Linked DNA regions of Homo sapiens: region 1 is linked to region 2. The links are contacts of gene promoters, found by promoter capture Hi-C in blood cells and fetal thymus (Javierre and others, 2016). All regions are on one chromosome and are shown on one strand. The core of a region is centred on a gene start or on the middle of the fragment in contact, and the rest is flanking DNA. Distances in the headings are between cores, read along the strand shown. Region 1 overlaps PEBP4 (phosphatidylethanolamine binding protein 4). Region 2 holds the start of EGR3 (early growth response 3).

Region 1 (3,167 bases), core at 265-2,764, 64 kb after region 2:
CAGAGCGACAGCCTTGCGAGGCTAGCGTGGGATGGTCTGGAGACAAGGTGGCAAGACTCAGGCAGGAGCTGAACAGCTGGCGCCTCCTTCTGGCCTCGCAGGGCTGGAGCAGGACTGGGGAGGGCGGGCTTGTGCGAGAACCTCTGCCCCTGGGCTCCCAGGATGTGACCCTCCCTGCCAGAGACCCTTAACCCCGGACAGCCCCAGCTCAGGAGAGCTAACAGTGAGCGAGGGAGGCTGTTATGTAACCGACTGAACTCCTCGTCAACACTGGTGACTAATTCCGACAGTCTCGGCCAGTTGTGGCTGATTCTCACACCCTCTGCTGGATGCATCTCTCCGCTTCCTCCCTGGCCCTGGCCCCAGCCCCACCAACCTCCACCACTGTCCCATGCTCCTCCCCACGTGGACTGGGGATGCTTGGGGAAGCAAGCCTTTTCTAGATGCGTCCAGCCCCCAATCTTTGCATCCCTTCCTGCCTTAAAAAGATGCCAGGAGCAGATTGTCCATTTCTGTCTGTACAAAAACCCACTTGCCTGGGGGCTCATTGAGGCCCTTCTTTTGCTCCTGGGTAAGGGAGAAGAAAGTGGTTGCTGGCAGGCTGGGAATTTCGGCTTGCCAAGGCTGGGACTGTTGAGTTCGGAAATCGTGGTGGCCAAACTCCACCATTTACCAGGGGAAAGGGACCCAGGGAGTACCTGACCTCCCTCAGTCTCTGGACCTAGGACCCCTGGCCCTGTGGGTCGCAGGTTCCCTGGATGATGCTGGGGAAAAGGCCTGTGTTCATTGCCTCAGTTCTAATTTTTCTTTTTCAAAAGGAAGCTCTCAGAACGCCCAGCTATCCCCACTGCAGAAGGCTCTCCCTGAAAGGGCACAGGTGGAGGACGTTTGCATTTATCTGGAGACAGTTCATGGAGAAACACAAAGAGGTGTCCTGACAAGACAACAGGTCCACAGCAGTCGTCATCATGAGTGCTCACCATATGCCAGGGTTCATCTTTTAAAATCCTTAACCAAACAACCAAACTGTGGTTGGGATTATTCTCTTTTTATAGGTGAGAAAACTGAGGCTGAAAGCCATTGGGTGGTTTGCCAAAGCTGAGAAGTAGCTGAGCTGGGGTTTGTACTCACACCACGGTGACTCGGAGGCCCAAGCCAGTTCTGACACACTGCCTTCCCATGACATTCCCACGACAGGTTCCCGAGGTCGTTGGAATGCTTACACATTTCAGCAACTTCATGGCAACTGCCCAGCTCGACCCAGAAGATAATACTACCTTGTACTCCCCCTGCCGCTTCCTTCCTCCAGGCAGCTCACAGACATGACCTCATTCCCTCTCCCAGAGTCCCATAGGGGTGAAGGACAGGGTGGGGATCGTTAACTCTGCTTCCTAGGGAGGAAAGGGAGGCCCAGAGAGGGATGCTGGCCCACCCTGGGTCATCCAGCCAGCTAGCGGGAGAGCTGCAACTGGAAATCAGGCTTCCCTGCCCTCGGGGACAGTTATTTAGCCTCCTGGATGTGAGCTAGAATCACCCCTAAGATGCAGCAATTGGGGTACTCCTCTTGGGGTACTGGGACTCAGTGGCTGAAACAGCTCCAAGAGAGTTGGGCCTGTGCTGAAAACAGAAATCCGAGATGCATATAAATTCAATCCGTATGAGAAGAGCAGGGTGGCCTGGGAGGAGTGGTCACCGCAGTGGCTCCACCTCCTACCCGGCCACCTGCAGCCCTGCCTGGGCTGCTCTTGGTCTCTCTGTGCCCAGCTTCCCTGGCCGGATGCCCTGGGGGCCAGAGCAGCCGCAGGTGCGATGAAAAGAACACTGGCCTTGAGGTCATGGGACCTGGGGAGGATATTCACCAGGGGCCCCTAAGTTAGTCATTTTAGCTCTCAGCTTTTCCATTTTTCATTCAAAAAATGGGGACTCTAACTCCATGAAAGAGACATTGTGTGTGAAATATTTCATCATAAGCTGTGAAGCCTGCAAAGAAACTCCTGGTGTTCTCTGTAGCCTGATTTCATCTCTACTAAACGCTATTTTGAAAATGATTTTGAAGCTGGTGGGTCACATAGAAGGATGGCCTGAGCATCCATCCATCTTCCCTCCGGTGACCCTTTCACTTCGTGTCTGTGGTACCCAGTGCCTGGTACTGAATGTTCCTGGGTGGCCCCGTGGTTCGGCAAACTTTCTGGAAAGGCCCAGGTAGTAAATATTTGAGGCCTGGTGGGCCACATATGGTTTTGGTCACATGTTCTTTGTTTGTTTCTTTTCTTATAACCCTTTGAAAATGCAAAAACCTTTCTCAGCTCACAGGCCCTACAAAAATAGGTTGATTTGGCCTGTGGGCTGTCGTTTGCAGGGGGCCGGTTTACCTGGTAGAAAGTGGGTGGGTGGGAGTTTGGAAATGGACAGAAAAGCCCGCAGCCCAGTTTTGCACTTGCCTGGCTGTATGCTGTTAGGCCACTCACTTGGCCTGCCCCGGAGTTAGTTTAATGGTCTGCCCTATGATTCTAATGATGCCTACTTCAGGGGCTATCATGAGAATAACATGTACCCCATAGCAGGCTCTCAGCAGATGGGAGCTGATGTCATTGCTTCTGTCCAACAAGCATGAGAATGCAGGGTCCAGGGGTGGCCCACCCTGTCCGCAGTATGGTGGGGTGGACAGCGCTTTCCTAGGGCTTGGGATATTTTATCAGGGAGCCAATGCCTTGCCTTGGAAGGGAGAGGCCCCCAGGCTGGGGTTTCATGACAGAAAGAGGAGTGAAGTCCGGGGCTTATGTCAGGAGCTGGTCAGTGCACACTGGCAGAGCATGGAGAAGTGGAAGCCAGGGGAGGGGAGGACCATCTGCAGGGAGGGGGCGAGGGTGGGAGGAGGGCCATGGGAAACAGCTGTTTACCTGTTTTGGGCAGCTGTGATGGGCTCTGCTGGCCTTGGGGGAGTGATCCCAGGTGGCTAGAGTGGCCACAGCAGTCTGGTGGGCTCAGGGAAAGGTGGGGGTAGACGTGAGGCGCTGCAGACCTGGGCCCCAACACTGACTTTGTTGCTGTCAGGGGTGGGGGCTGGGAGTCTTTGAGGCTAGAAGAGACCCCGCATAGACGGAGGCCCAGGGAGGCCCAGGGCTTTGCCAAGAGAGGATACCCGGGGAGTACCCAGTCCTCTTGAG
Region 2 (3,065 bases), core at 84-2,583:
CCATGGCGGGAGAGGCCGCCCTTCCCCAGCTCCCCGGCCCCGGGATCGTTCCCCGTGGCAGGCCCTCGCCCCGCGGGTGAACCCCCTCCTTCTCCCCGCCGTCCCCACACCCCCACGGCTTTGCTGAACGCCCCGGAAAGGCAGCGTCGCAGTACCTCTCCCACCGCGGGGACTCCACGCCGCACATGGCTCCATCCCGGGTGGGAGGCTGAGGGAGTAAGGGGGGAGAGCGCGGGTGAAAAAGACGCCGGGCTCCTCCCGGGAAGAGGGCGACAGCACCACGCCTTGCGCGTAGCCCGGCGATCGGGCCCCCTGCGTGGTGAGGGAGAACCCCAGAGCCGCTCGCACCTACCTCCCTCCGGTCGGCGGCTGCCCCCACCCGGGAGAACCGAAGCCTCTACCGTGGCGTCGCCAACCTAGCCTTCTCGATCGAGGAGGGCGGGAGGAGTGGGTGGGAAAAGCAACTCGCCCCCCGCAAAATTCCCAGCGCGCCCCCATCTCTCCATCCATTTATCTATCCACCCATCCACCCATCCATCCATCCATCCATCCATCCATCCATCCATCCATCACCAGGTCGTCCCCTCCTCCTCTTCCTCTCCCCTTCCTTCCTCGCTGCCTCGCCGCCTCCCCGCCGCCCTTACCTGTAGCCATCTGATTGTAATGGACTACCGAGTCGCTGCTGCCGGAGAAGAGGTTGAGCGCGCTGGGGATCTCCTCGGGGTACAGATTGTCAGGCAGTTGGTTTAGCAAACTGCTCATGGTCACCGGCAGCTTCTCGGCGAGTTTGCCGGTCATAGCACTCCCGAGCTGCCGCCGCCGCCGCCACCGCCGCCACCGCCGCCGCTCGCTCCTAACGCAGCTTCCAGGCAAGCGGCATCCGAGAGGCGATCCGTGGTGCAGGGGAAAAGCATGCGAGAGGGAAAGTTCGGGGGGAGGGGGGAGGGAAGAAGGGAAGGGATGGGCCAGGAGAGGGGATCTTCTCTTTTTTGGGGGGCGGGAGAGGGCCCCAGGGGGTAATCCTCTTGGGTGCCTCAGCTGGTGCGGTATGAGGCTGGGTCGTGGGGGGGGTGGGGCGTGTGCGGGGGGTGGGGTGGGGGCTGGGCTGGGGGGGGATCTCGGCTCAAGGGGGTCGGACGCGGCCTCAGTATTGATCTCACAAACAGACACGCGCCCGCCGCCCCCCCGCCCCCCGATCTGCCACCGCCACCGCCACCGCCACCGCCGCCGCCGCCGCCGCCGCCGCCGCCGCCTCTGCCGCCGCTGCCGCCGCTGCTACCACCACCACCAGCCCCGCCGCTTCCTAGCAAGCTCACTGCTGCCCAAAAGCTCCCAGCCAGGGAACTCCACCAGCCTATTTATCTGAGCCCCGGGAAAGCTCCGTGACGTAGCTGCCCATATATGGACAGACAAAGCCCAGCCGAAGGGGCGCGACGTCACAATGGAAGCTCCTCACAATGGAACATTAGAAAGCAGGAAGCGGGCCGCAGCCAACGTGCGGCGCCCGCACCGCTCGCGGCTCTTGAAAAAAAGAGAAGGGGAGAAGAAACAAGAAGAATGCGAGAAGAGAGAGGAAAGAAGGATACAGCTGCATGCAAAGCGCAAAGCGCGTAGCGTGGAGTCGAAACACCAGTAACTCATTGTGTGTGTTTATTTGAGGTTTGCGTTAGGAGAGCGCATTGGGGAGAGGTGGGCGGTGGGGTGGGGTTGTTTGCAAGTGGTCTCCAACACCCCAGCAGTTAGAAAGAGAGTTGAAAACATCTGGCGAAATCCCTTTGCAGCCCGGGAACTGCTGGGGAACCCGGAAGGCGTGCGTTGCGCCCCTGCTACCTCAGCGGCTCCAGCGTTCGGGATCCTATCCGAGATTAAGAGAAAGGGAGTGCTTCCCTTTGTGGGGGGAAGGAGGGGTGCGCGCAGGGTTGGGGGGGTGTTTCAACTTGTCAGAATTCCTTGGTCCAATATCCCAAGAACTTTTGTGCCAACTTCACTCTGATTCGCCGCCCCTGCCCCTCCCTGGGCCCCTGACCCGGCGCTGACTCTAGGCTGAGCGCAGTGGCGAGGAGATTCGGAGCACCCCAGCAGTTGCGCCAAAGACAAGAGCCCCATCCATATGGGGTCGAGGATGTGCGGTTTTCGTGGTGAAGAGGAAAGAATGAAGTTGAAGGGATAGATAAACACGTGCACTGAATCCCCAGTAAATTCCCTAACGGTTCCAAGCAGCCTCTGTGGCCACAGGATGGCAGGAGGGCCCAGCAGGCCCGGGCGCAGTCGCTGTCTACTGCTGCCTGCGAAGGGCCCGCCAGAGTTCCAGAAGGAGGACGCCGAACCCACAGTCTCTGAGCCACTGGGGGCCTCCCCTAGTCTCTGCCCTCCCCCTCGCCTTCCACAGGGCTGTCCCCATTGCTGCCTGCCGGCGCTCCGCAGTCAAGGGCGGCCTGTGTGCCGACCCGGAGCGCTTTCACCTCCCGGAGCGGCAGCAGATCCCGGGGGCGGCTGCTGTGCTCCCTGGGGCCTGCTCCCGAGGCGCGCGCAGCCGGCCCGCGGGCGAGGGGGAGGAGAGGGCGGGAGCATGGGGGTGCGACCCCAAATCACATCGGCTTGGCGGGGGAGGATTCCCTCCTCGGTGGCCGCGTGGGCGCGGTGAATCCCTCGTCCCCTCCTGGGGAGTCGGGGTTGGGGGAACGTGCATTTCTCGGGGGGAGTGGGAGTGTTGACAAGGAAGAAGAGAGGATCCCCGGGCCTCACGCCGTGGGAGGGCCACGCGGGCCGGGGACGTGTGGGAGGAACTCCCGAGCTGCACGTTGTGGTGGAGGTGGATGACAACCTCGCTCCCCTCCCCTCCCCTCCACTCAGTGGAGGGCTGGGGACCGGAGGGCCCGGCCTCCCCCCATCTTCTCCAGTTCTTAGGAAAGGAGGGATTCCCGCCTCCCGCGAGCCCCCTCTCTCCACCCCCGCCGCCTCTCCCGCCAGGCTCCCCACTCCTATACTAGGGAGCCACAGCGCCCCCCGGGCTGTCCTCCGCCAGCGCGGCTCAGGGAGGGAGAGCGCTGCAGCGGTCCCGCGCT

What was found. Contacts are between HindIII fragments. The CHiCAGO score rates a contact against its expected background, and 5 or more counts as called.
Region 1: a fragment that was not itself captured here is called in contact with the fragment with the promoter of EGR3 in region 2 in 1 of 17 cell types (M0 macrophages); the score reaches 5.8 in M0 macrophages.

What each region holds. Positions count from the first base shown.
Region 1 is chr8:22,756,146-22,759,312 of GRCh38, forward strand. All of the region lies in intron 4 of PEBP4 (phosphatidylethanolamine binding protein 4), which reads right to left. LOC107986925 (a long non-coding RNA gene) reads left to right here. Exons shown (of 3, transcript XR_007060852.1): 3 at 819-2,247. Among named protein-coding and RNA genes, the nearest start is that of EGR3, 64 kb to the left of the region's middle. The HindIII fragment of the contact is 4,907 bases long and covers 1-3,167 here.
Region 2 is chr8:22,692,147-22,695,211 of GRCh38, forward strand. It overlaps EGR3 (early growth response 3), which reads right to left and starts at 1,334. Exons shown (of 2, transcript NM_004430.3): 1 at 645-1,334. The coding sequence starts at 798. LOC105379321 (a long non-coding RNA gene) reads left to right here and starts at 2,711. Exons shown (of 3, transcript XR_001745832.2): 1 at 2,711-3,065. RefSeq lists silencers at 364-433, 1,296-1,415, 1,360-1,523, 2,406-2,625, 2,756-3,065 and enhancers at 1,568-2,213, 2,046-2,155, 2,196-2,295. The HindIII fragment of the contact is 8,376 bases long and covers 1-3,065 here.